Regions from separate parts of the Homo sapiens genome. Here region 2 is linked to region 1. Evidence: promoter capture Hi-C in 16 types of primary human blood cells and fetal thymus (Javierre and others, 2016). All regions are on one chromosome and are shown on one strand. Each heading gives the region's core, a stretch centred on a gene start or on the middle of the fragment in contact. The rest is flanking DNA. Distances are from core to core; before and after follow the strand shown.

Evidence for each region. Contacts are between HindIII fragments. The CHiCAGO score rates a contact against its expected background, and 5 or more counts as called.
Region 2: a contact is called between a fragment that was not itself captured here and the fragment with the promoter of KPNA5 in region 1, in 1 of 17 cell types (non-activated CD4 T cells). The highest score is 5.5, in non-activated CD4 T cells.

What each region holds. Positions count from the first base shown.
Region 1 is chr6:116,679,575-116,685,459 of GRCh38, reverse strand. KPNA5 (karyopherin subunit alpha 5) reads right to left here and starts at 4,249. Exons shown (of 14, transcript NM_001366306.2): 1 at 4,122-4,249. The coding sequence starts at 4,125. RefSeq lists enhancers at 2,687-3,668, 3,669-4,652. The HindIII fragment of the contact is 1,991 bases long and covers 2,743-4,733 here.
Region 2 is chr6:154,248,170-154,253,725 of GRCh38, reverse strand. All of the region lies in intron 3 of IPCEF1 (interaction protein for cytohesin exchange factors 1), which reads left to right. Among named protein-coding and RNA genes, the nearest start is that of IPCEF1, 110 kb to the left of the region's middle. The HindIII fragment of the contact is 1,498 bases long and covers 803-2,300 here.

The sequences.
Region 1 (5,885 bases), core at 3,000-5,499:
GGGCCTACCGGAGGGTGGAGGGTAGGAGGAGGGAGAGATGCAGAAAAAATAACTATTGGGTACTAGGCTTAGTACCTGGGTGACAAAATAATCTGTACAACACCCATGACACGAGTTTACCTATACAACAAGCTTGCACATGTGCCCCTGAGCCTAAAGGTAAAATAAACAACAACAACAAAACCAACAAAATAAATCCGGCTTCTTTCATTTAGCACGGTATTTGAGTCGTCCACATTGTTGGCATCTATCAACTCTCCTTTCTTATTGCTGTTATTCCACTGTAGGGACAGATCACGGTTTATCAGTTTTCCAGTTAAAGAACATCTGGGTGGTTTCTAGTTTTTGGAGGTTATGAATAAATGTGCTACAGACATTTATGTAAAGGTGTTTGTGTAAACATAAGTTTTCATTTCACTCAGTAAATATCTAGGAGTAGAACTGACGGATAATACGGCAAGTTTATGTTTCACTTTATAAGAAACTGCCAAACTTCTTTCCAAAGTGAGTATTCCATCTTGCATTCCCATCAGTAATGTATGAGAGTTCCAGTTGCTTTGCATCCTGTCTCCATTTGATGATTTAAGGGGTTTTGTCGTTGCTGTTGCTAGTCATAGCCATTCTAATAAGTGTATAGTGACTCTGGTTTTAAACATGGTAAATGTGTAGTACTTGGTGCACATGTAGGAGGCTTTGATCTGTAGATGGTTGAAAATACGGATCAGAACTCAGGACAGGGATCTGGAGTGATCATTTGCTATCATGTAGAGCTACAGAAGAAGGATGACCAAAGGAGAAATCTTGGGGACCATCATATTTTAGCAGAAAAAGGCAAGAGCAAAAGAAACCAAAAAGAAGTAGGTCAGAGAAGTAGAAGAATAAGGAAGAAATTAAGAGTCCTGCAAAGGAAAGGAGTTCAAAAGATAAAGGAATATTTAAGTTGTAGTACCACTGAAAACAGGCCACTCGGTTTATTCATTCATTGATTCATCCAGAAAATAAAAGTGCCTGTAATAATCCAAGTACCATATCAGGCATCAGATTTGGTAATTATGTCACTGGTAAAGATAGTGAGACAAATCTCACTACTGGTGGAGCTCAAGGTAGAAGGGAAGGGGCTGAGGACTTGAGAATGATTGAAAAGAAATGCATGATTAATTTACCAAAATTCCTCCTTTAAAATATTTAATAGATTCAGCAATACTATGTGCACCTACAAATAGATATCATTAGAAACTGCTCAATATGGCCGGGCGGGGTAGCTCACACCTGTAAACCTAGCACTTTAGAAGGCCAAGGAGAGTCGATCGCTTGAGGTCAGGAGTTCAAGACCGGCCTGGCCAATATAGTGAAACCCTGTCTCTACTGAAAATACAAAAATCAGCTGGGCATGCTGGTAGAAGCCTGTAATCCCAGCTACTCTGGAGGCTGAGGCAGGAGAATTGCTTGAACTCGGGAGGCAGAGGTTGCAGTGAGCCAAGATCGCTCCAGCCTGGACTCCAGCCTGGGAGACAGAGCAAGACTCTGTCAAAAAAAAAAAAAAAAAAAAAAAAAAAAAAAAAAGGCCGGGCACGGTGGCTCACGCCTGTAATCCCAGCACTTTGGGAGGCCGAGGCAGGTGGATCACAAGGTCAGGAGATCGAGACCATTTTGGCTAACACAGTGAAACCCCATCTCTATTAAAAATACAAAAAATTAGCCGGGCGTGGTGGTGGGCACCTGTAGTCCCAGCTACTCAGGAGGCTGAGGCAGGAGACCCCGGGAGGGAGACTCCTGGCATGAACCCCGGGAGGCGGAACTTGCAGTGAGCCAAGATCATGCCACTGCACTCCAGCCTGGGCCACAGAGTGAGACTCCATCTCAAAAAAAAATAATAAATAAAAGAGGGAAACCGCTCAACATAACTTTACTAATAACAATGTTTGGTATTATTCTCTATTTTATATCTATAAAAAGCTAGACTCTTGAAAGGAAAAAATTAGAGATCAGAGTTCATTACAGTGCAAACTGACCACAGTATTAGTTGTTGAATTACGCTCAATATATATAAAATATTTAAGTAAAATAAAATGCTCATGGAAATAAAACTCTTAAAGTATTTATCACCTATATATGTAGCATATTCTAGGCCACTGGCTCTAAACGTTTTCAATCACACATCCTACATTCGTAAAATACATTTGTGCATTCATCCTCAATATATTTATTTCTATACATGCATTACTATTCTAATATACTACTCTAGCATAAAATTCACAAAAAACAGAAATTTTTAAGAATGAAAGTTTTAAAAGGTAAACAAATAGAAGTTCTAATATTTTCTTACCACATCTGACTGGATCACCTTGTGCCCCACCACGCACACATACAAAGGCGCTACTTATGAGACCATTAATCCAAGCAACCACATTGTAACTGTTCAGCATAAATTTTAGCCAAATAAAATACAGCACCAACAACTCAGATATCACTTGTTCCTTTTTCTTCAATAGTACTGACTTCCGGCTTCAGATTTAACACTGCATCCATCCTCACTGCAGTTGCTTTAAAGGGGACAATAAACCAAGGGAAATTATCTCTAAAGGGGCCCCATCCAATGGGATTGTTTCGTTCACTGAAAAATAAATTTAAAGGCTGCACTTCAAAGGCTGAGGTCTCATAAAAATTAAATATTTTTATTTAGAAATGTTATTCCAGCACTTTAAAGTTACAGAATAGAGGAATTTTTTTCATTCATAAGCTTTCAACGGCTCTTAGAAAAACCATGTTTAAGTTGGGCAAATAACTGGAATCTGAACTTATGATTTTCTTTAATATCAATCGACATTATTTCTTATGCCAGTAAAGCCTTCATTTCCATGGGGCTGGGCGCCTCATTAGTGAAAGTAAAAGACTGCACAAAGCGGGGGAAGTGCCAACTAGAGAGCCCTCACAACCAAACAAGCAGTACTTAGGTCGGAGGGAGAGAGTTGCTCCTGACCTACCAAGAAAACCACTTTTGTACAGAATATGAGTCATCATTATTGGGTGTTGTAATTGAGAGATAAATCATTAGTGTTTTTGTCTTTTTTAAAAAACATGTCTAAAAAGCTCAAAAGTAAATGCCAGTGTCATATTCTTTTGTTTGTTTTTTGAGACAGAGTCTCGCTCTGTCGCCCGGGCTGGAGTGCAATGGCGCTCTCGGCTCACTGCAAGCTCCGCCGCCCGGGTTCACACCGTTCTCCTGCTTCAGCCTCCCGAGTCGCTGGGACTACAGGCGCCCACCACCATGCCAGGCTAATTTTTCCTTTTTTTGTATTTTTGGTATTTTTTTTGTATTTATTATTTTGTATTTTATTTTGTATTTTTTGTATTTTTGGTAGAGACGAGGTTTCACCGTGTTAGCCAGGATGGTCTCGATCTCCTGACCTCGTGATCCGCCCGCCTCCGCCTCCCAAAGTGCTGGGATTACAGGCGTGAGCCACCGCGCCCGCCGCCAATGTCATATTCTTTAGACATATCACTGTCATTTCACAGCTTTCAAATACTTCCATCTCCTATGTATTATCGATGAAAACCTAAGTTTTCATCTTAGAACGGAGCTGCCCGACTATTAGAAGCGTGGAACCCAGGCTTGCCTTGTCGTCGGGAATGAGCACTAGAGGCACCTGCACGCAGGTGGAGGAGGGAGGCTGGCGGATGGAGAGGGCGAGGCTAGGAGGCCCTCGGGATGGAACCTGTCTCTTCTTTGGACACTGTGGAATTTCCATAAGCTGCTGGACACAGCTGATGGGTACCAGGTATGAGTGGCAACGTTTGGCAATTCCATTAACTGAAAAGAACTACCGAGAAACGGTGAGGCGGGGCGGCGAAGATGAGACCAGCTGCCCATCACTCCAGAGGACCTGCTGAAAGAATCTGAACTCACCACGCCTTCGCGTCCGCAAGGGAAAGGTCCGGCTGCCACGCCCCCGCGACCGCTGTCGCCCTGGGGAAAACACGAGAAACACCCGGCACCGCCAGGTTCCAGAGACCTTCGCAAAGTAAGGGGTAAATAAAAACCGTGGCCCCAGGAACTAGTAGTTCCCAAAGGGACCAAAACCGAGGCTCCCCCAACCTAGCCCGTGTTCACTCCAACTTACCCATTAATGTGGCACTCTCCGATGCCCTGATTTCCCAGTCCCCAGCGGCGACGTGTGTGGCGGGTAACAGAAGGGCCGCCACTCCGCCCCTGGCGTGAAGCGTAGCGACCCAGTTCGCAATCCAAGATGGCGGCCACCTGCGCCCCTTCTCCGAGACCCCGAGGCTCGGCTCCCAGAAGCCCTTGCACTCGACGCGGCGGCGGCGGCGGCGGCGGCGGCGGCGGCGGAGGAGGAGTGGTGGCCGCACATCCTAGCAGTGGGGCGTAGAGAAAGTGCGCGCCGCCGTCCCACCCACCGAAGGAGGAGCCTGTGCCTGCGACAAGCCCTGGATTTTAGTTGCGCTTGCGGTGGCCATGCTGTAGGTACTCTGCGGCCCGTAGACCTCCGTGTGTGCAAAGGGACGACCCCTCATTCATTCATTCTTCACGCGTGCGTGCATGCATACATTCTTAAGGATATAAACTGTGTCAAGTACCATTTTAGATACATTATTGGGGCTACAACAGTGCAAAAAAGTTGGTAAAAATCGCAGCCTTGTTAAGTGTACGGAGAAGCTCACGTTTTCTTCAGCTTCATTAACTTTTATATGCTCTGCTCGTTTTATTTCAAGCTTTTTGTCATTTATAATTTTATATTCTATAACATCTGCGGTTTTTTGTTTTTGTTTTTCTGTTTTTGGGGGGTTTTTTTTGAGACGGAGTCTGGCGCTGTCACCAGGCTGGAGTGCAGTGATGCGATCTCGGCTCACTGCAACCTCCGCCTCCCAGGTTCAAGCGATTCTCCTGCCTCAGCCTCCCAAGTAGCTGGGACTACAGGCATGCGCCACCACGCCCAGCTAATTTTTGTATTTTTAGTAGAGACCAGGTTTCACCGTGTTGGCCAGGATGGTCTTGATCTCTTGACCTCCTGATCCGCCCGCCTCAGCCTCCCAAAGTGTTGGGATTACAGGCATGAGCCACCACACCCAGCCACATGAGTGTATTTTTGACAGCAATGTAGTCACCAATAAACGAGTAACTTCAGTTAAAGTACTGTAGATTATAATACACAGCCCTGTAATCTACCCTGGAGTTCAACAAACGGTATTGAAAACAGACTGTGTTCCAGATGCAATAGGAAGAGAATAAATAAGATAAACAATACATAAATCCTGCCCAGAAGACGTTTGCAATTTTTTAAGAGGAAAAACATGAAGACAAATTGTTTTAAGATGTTTGCTATTTTCAATAGTTGAAAAATAAACAGGAGAGAAGGGATTATTTAACTGTGGGTATGTAGGGCTGAGAAAGGCACGCTTGACAAAGGAAACCTGGGCAGTGTTACCAGAAAGCGTTGCCAATCATGAGTCCATATAGTGAAGTGAAAGCAAGTTTATTAAAGAAGTAAAGAAACAAAAGAATGGCTACTCCATAGGCAGAGCAGTGGCTTGGGCTGCTGGACTGAGTATATAGTTTTTTTGTGTGTTGTTTGTTTGTTTTGACACGGAGTCTTGCTCTGTCGCCCAGGCTGGAGTGCAGTGGCGCCATCTCGGCTCACTGCAAGCTCCGCCTCCCGGGTTCACGCCATTCTCCTGCCTCAGCCTCCCGAGTAGCTGGAAATTTATTGTATTTTTAGTAGAGACAGGGTTTCACCGTGTTAGCCAGGATGGTCTCAATCTACTGACCTGGTGATCCTCCTGGCTCGGCCTCCCAAAGTGCTGGGATTACAGGCGTGAGCCACCGCGCCCAGCCAGTTATTTCTTAATTATATGTTAAACAAGGGGTG
Region 2 (5,556 bases), core at 302-2,801, about 38 Mb before region 1:
AAGTAGGACACTTTGGAAGAAACGTGGGAATATCTAAAAAATTAAAGATGCACATATCCTATGATCATGGAATTCCACTTCCAGACACATAGGTAGCCCAGAAAGACACCTGCATATATGAATAATGGAAGTTATACAAAATTGTTAATTGCAACATTTTTGTGATAGCATAACATTGTAAATAATTTCAATGTGCATCAATAGGTAGAGATACATTGTGGCATTTTTCTTCACTGCAGTACTATGCAGCATTGAAAATGAACTAGAGATACATGTATCAACGTGAAAACATTACAAAAACATAATAGTGAAAATTAAATGTCTGCATTAATGTTATTACTTCTAGTTTTGTTAAAATATTATTTATAGATAGTAAAAGTGCAAAGGAGGTCGGATGTGGTGGCTCGTGCCTGTAATCCCAGCACTTTGGGAGGCTGAGGAAGATAAATCTCTTGGGCCTATGATTTCGAGACCAGCCTGGGAAACAGAGCGAGACCCTGTCTCTACAAGGAGAAAACAACAACAACAACAAAAAAAGCAAGGAAATGATCAACATCACATTCAAGTTAGTGTAATGTGAGGAGAATGAGAGGGAAATGAAAAAGGGAAGGAGTACACAGAGAGATAACAGTATACTTAATTCTCTTAAAAATAATCTCAAAAAGAAAAAAGGCAGAAAGAAATGGATGATCAATGAGTTAGAATATGAATATAATTGAAGCCTTTGATACTGTATTGTTGAAGTGCTTTCTAAGTGTGTATCTGTATCTTACTGCAATAAAAGGGTTTAAGCACAGAAGCTTGGTTTTGAGGGAGGTCTGTGGCAATCTCTGTCCTTTGGCAGTGTGCCTTCCTGTTACTATCATGACGCCTCTTTTCAGTGAAGATTCTTGAAGGAGTAGTCTGCAATGCTGTCTTTATTTCTTCAATTCCCACTCATCTCTCAACCCACTCGGATTGGTCTTGTAGCCCCACACAATAGTTAAACTGGTTTTGCCAAATCTCTAGTGAATCCATCCTTCGTTTTTTCTTTTCTTTTTTTTTGTTTTTCGAGATGGAGTCTTGCTCTGTCACCCCAGCTAGAGTGCAATGGCATGATCTCGGCATACTGCAGCCTCCGTCTCTGGGGTTCAAGCAGTTCTCCTGCCTCAGTCTCCCGAGTAGCTGGGATTACAGGTGCCCACCACCACGCCCAGCTAATTTTTGTATTTTTAGTAGAGACGGAGTTTCACCGTGATGGCCAGGCTGTTCTTGAACTCCTGATCTCGTGATCCGCCCACCCTGGCCTCCCAAAGTGCTGGGATTACAGGTGAGAGCCACCGTGCCTGGCCAAGAGGAGCTCGTCCTTTGTTTTTTCACACTGACAGTACTGGAAGGTTTGGACCTACCTTTCTCTTGTATTCCTCCCTCTGCTCCACGACAACCTTCTCTCCTGCCTCTCTTTACTTTTTCTTTGGCTGTTAATGGCACAGTCCCCTTGCTGGGCTTCTATTGCTTTTCTGGGGCATGTTGGTTTTCCTTTGGATTCTGATGTTGAGCGTTTGTCATTCTATACATTCTCTGGGTGATCTGACCAAAACATGAGACTTCTACTCTTTATACAGTGACAAGTCAACATTTTATGTCTTTATTCCAGATTTTCCTCCCAATATCTAATCCCTTATATACTGCTGTATACCAAGTATTTCCACTTAGATGTCTCACATGTTTATCAGACTCAGTATCTTTACTGCTGAAACAATATGTACATTTCTAACTGTGTTCTCTATGGTGCTAAGTCATTTATTGCAATTGTTTCAGCTAGAAACTCCACGATTTTCCCTGGAACTTTGCTCTTCCCCACTTTCTACATTGTCTTCCTCCTTCTTCCGTCTTCTCTTGCACCCTTCCTGCAGCTCCTTATCTCCTCTCCCTTCCTTCCTCCCCTTCTTCCCAGTCCTCCTTTCATTTCTTCTTTTCCTCTTCTAGGTGGAAAGTGCCGTGGTATCCATCTTCGCCACAATCTCTAGTCCTTGCTTCCCTGCCCTACTTCTTAACAAAACAGCAACAATGCAAACAAATATCCTAACAGTTTACTATGCAGAGTTTTATTCTTGAAATACCTATTTTCACTTTACCATTTACTTTGGTGACTTTGGGCAAAATTCTGAAGCTCCGTTTGCTTTAATTTCCACTTCTGTAAAGTGGATATAATAATAGCACCTGAGCCAGAAAGGTGGCTATGAGAGTTCAATGCTAGTAATCTTGAAAAGACTCAGAGCAGCGCCTGGCACATGCGAGCATGATATGATTATTAAGCTTTATTCATATGTTTTAGCTGTCATTGTGGTTTTTTAAAATAAGAGATGGGATCTTGTTATGTTGTCCAGGCCAGTTTTGAGCTCCTGGGCTCAAGACATCCTCCCACCCCGGCCTCCCAAATCACTGACATAGGCGTGAGTCATCACATCCAACCTCTGTCATTGTTTTTATTACTGCTTCTGTTATTATTGTTAGAATGTCTATTGTCTTTCTTCATTATCCACTACTATGACAGATTATTTCAATTAATGTATTAAGTATTATTTAAGGTGGTTAGTCTTCTGAAAAAATTAAGCAAGCTTTTCATGTTTTCACAGGTAAATGTCTATTAATTGGATGCTTTAGAATCTCCTTTAAAAAGTTGAGTCTATTTTTCTGGGAAGGATAAAAAACGTTTGTGGAGATGTCAGGGGTTTCTGGAAGAACATCCCTAACAGCTCTATCAGTGCTGTGCCGATCTGGTATGGCTCTAAAATAGTCAGGAATTTCTGTGGCTTGGTTGTTAAAATATTGGTAATTTGAAACTGTCAATGATGTGAGGGTTTCTACCACAGAAATTGACAAAAGCCACCAGTTAGGGCTCCTGCAACCAGAGAGCCCATTTTACCAGCATATCACTGTATAGTTTTTGCTAAAGATTAGGATCACTATGAAGTCTGATGTAATGACAGAGCATCTTACTGTGAATTTTAATACATCTTGGGGTAAATTTTGCCTGCAAGGTTTAACAACTACTATATGGATTATAAGTCAATATAACAGTTACCCGTAACCTGGGCGTTAGCCCCAACATTCAATATCAAAGGAGTTTCCTTTGTATATTTTCTACTGGGTCTTTTGTATATTTCCATGTGTTTTTGAGTGATTCGTGGCCAAATGAAGTTTTTGAACCATCTTTTAAAAAGTTAAAGAAAAATACACTTCTTCAATGAAAAAGAAATACATATTTTCAAAGAAAAATTTCCCCTCAACTTTAGAAGTAAGTTAGGGCAAAATCAGATTTTTAGAATAATTTTTTAGTTTTACCTATAACATTCAAACTGGAAGAAAATAGAATGAGAAAATATCTTACTAGGCTCTGAATATTTATGATGATAGCAAGTTATAATTTCCCCTATTGAAAAACCATCTCATAAAATGCTCAACTGGTTGCTTGCTTTTTTTTTTTTTTTACTTACCTAGCGAAAAACCACATGCAAGATCATTTTGAAACGGACTAGTTCACGGGTTCCACTTCCTGTTGTGAGGAGTAAAATCTATCTTAGATGCAATAAAGTTCTCAAAGATTGTTTTCACTGTCTCATATAAACCAATTTAGGTTTCAAATTCATGTATGTTAGGTGAAACTGAAACTCCCTGAATTTGTTATTTCTATAATATGCAGTCTGTTTCTGGTCAGGGAAAACAGTTTTAACAGTTAATAATTTGCTTTAAGAGAATTATTGTCAGAACAGGGTTGACTCAATGACTCAATAACTAAGCTCCCTCCCCCACTTAAAAACAAACAAAAAAAAAGCCTTTCTTTGAGTTGGGTGCCTGTTCTGCTTGAGGTATTGTTCTCATCCCATCCTAGGCATAAGAACGTGGTGTAGACCAAGGGTTGGTCTTGGGCAGAATTGAGACAAAGCTCACATTTTGGGGCTTTCCCTGGAAGTAGCCCTAAGGTGGAGCCGGAGGGCTCCAGTCCCACTGGGTGCTCACAAGGAATGGGTGGAGGATACTCACTGGTACCCAGCTGGGAGCGATGGAAGGAGCATCACTTCCTCTCTGCCTTGGCTGATCCCATCGCTGCCCTCCAGGGACTTTCCTCTCATTTGTTCATCTGAAGGCTGCTCTTCTTGTTTGAACTAATGTAATTTCATCTTGTTCATTGGAGGCCTGAGCACTCTAGGAATGACTGTTAACAACGCCCTTTTCTCCCTATTCCCCTGGTTCTTGGTTTGTCTCAAGTGCTTGCTAGGGACTCCTGGACCCCAGATTTCCCAAATCTTACCCAGCATCTACATTCACGAATTCTCTTCTTTGTCTTTAGTCCTGGCTCTCAGCTAAAATTTAGCCACTCAAATAATATACATATTTGGGCAAAAATATTTTGCCAATAGGTACTAGTTGGGTTTTACTGATCTCAGAGAATTGGCATATCAAAAAAAGGTCCCAGGAGATGATTTGAGGGAATGATAGGAACTTTAGAACACAAGACAGGTCAGTGTGGGAGATATTTGTGAAGTGAGGCTGAGACTAGGTCCTTTTCATGATAACTTGCCTGGATTTTAGTAACATGCCATGATTATAACATGTCTATCTTTGCTTAAAATTTAAGGTAATTACTGCCATCTTTATGGATGATTAATTTTGGGGGGGATAAATTTTACTCTAACATTGGTCAGATGAAATGTCAGTGCAATATTTCTTGGGATCTATATTTCCCAGGAAATATAATTTAAACACTTTAGCTTCGTTGTAATTGCTGAAGGATACATAAATCATACTTATAAAAATTATGATTTTTTTCTGTTTATTAGATATAAAGTATTTGTTTATCTCAACGATATAATATTATATTACACATACTCATATAAAGGGATGTTGTTTAGTTCTCAGAGGATTTTCACAAATAAATCTTGTAAAATCTTTATAAGACCTATAGGATTAGAATTATTATCAATATCTTCATTTTATAAATGAAGAAGCAGATTCAGAGAGTGCTATTTTCTTGGGCACCACAGCTACTAATTATAATAGCCAGGAATTGGTTCCAGGCCTCTGGATTTAAAGACCTTCTCCTCTTTTCACTATGTCATATCCCTTCTTCAAACATACAGTAGAACCATATACAATAGCTATCAGATCAATAGTTAGATATGTAGACTATAAGCCAGGAACCTCTAGAAAACATTATAAAATGCTGTACTAAGATTACATACCAAATTTTGGAACTGCTTTTCATTTTCACACGTTTTTTCCCCTGAGTTCTCTACCTGTTAACGGAAAAGGTTGTCTTTCAAATTTAAATCAGTTCAGCTTAGATATTTGTAAAGAAAAAACAAATAGAACTTCTTTAAGCAAAATTTTTTTTCTCTCTCTCTACACACACACACACACACACACACACACACACGTATTTTAAAGCACTTAAAAATATTTTTTATTTTTGCTGATAGTCTGATTGTATGTTTGTTTAAAATGTATTGTGGAAAAAATGTATATTTCATATATGTTGTCTTATGTCTGATTTGAAGAGCTAGTACAGAATAG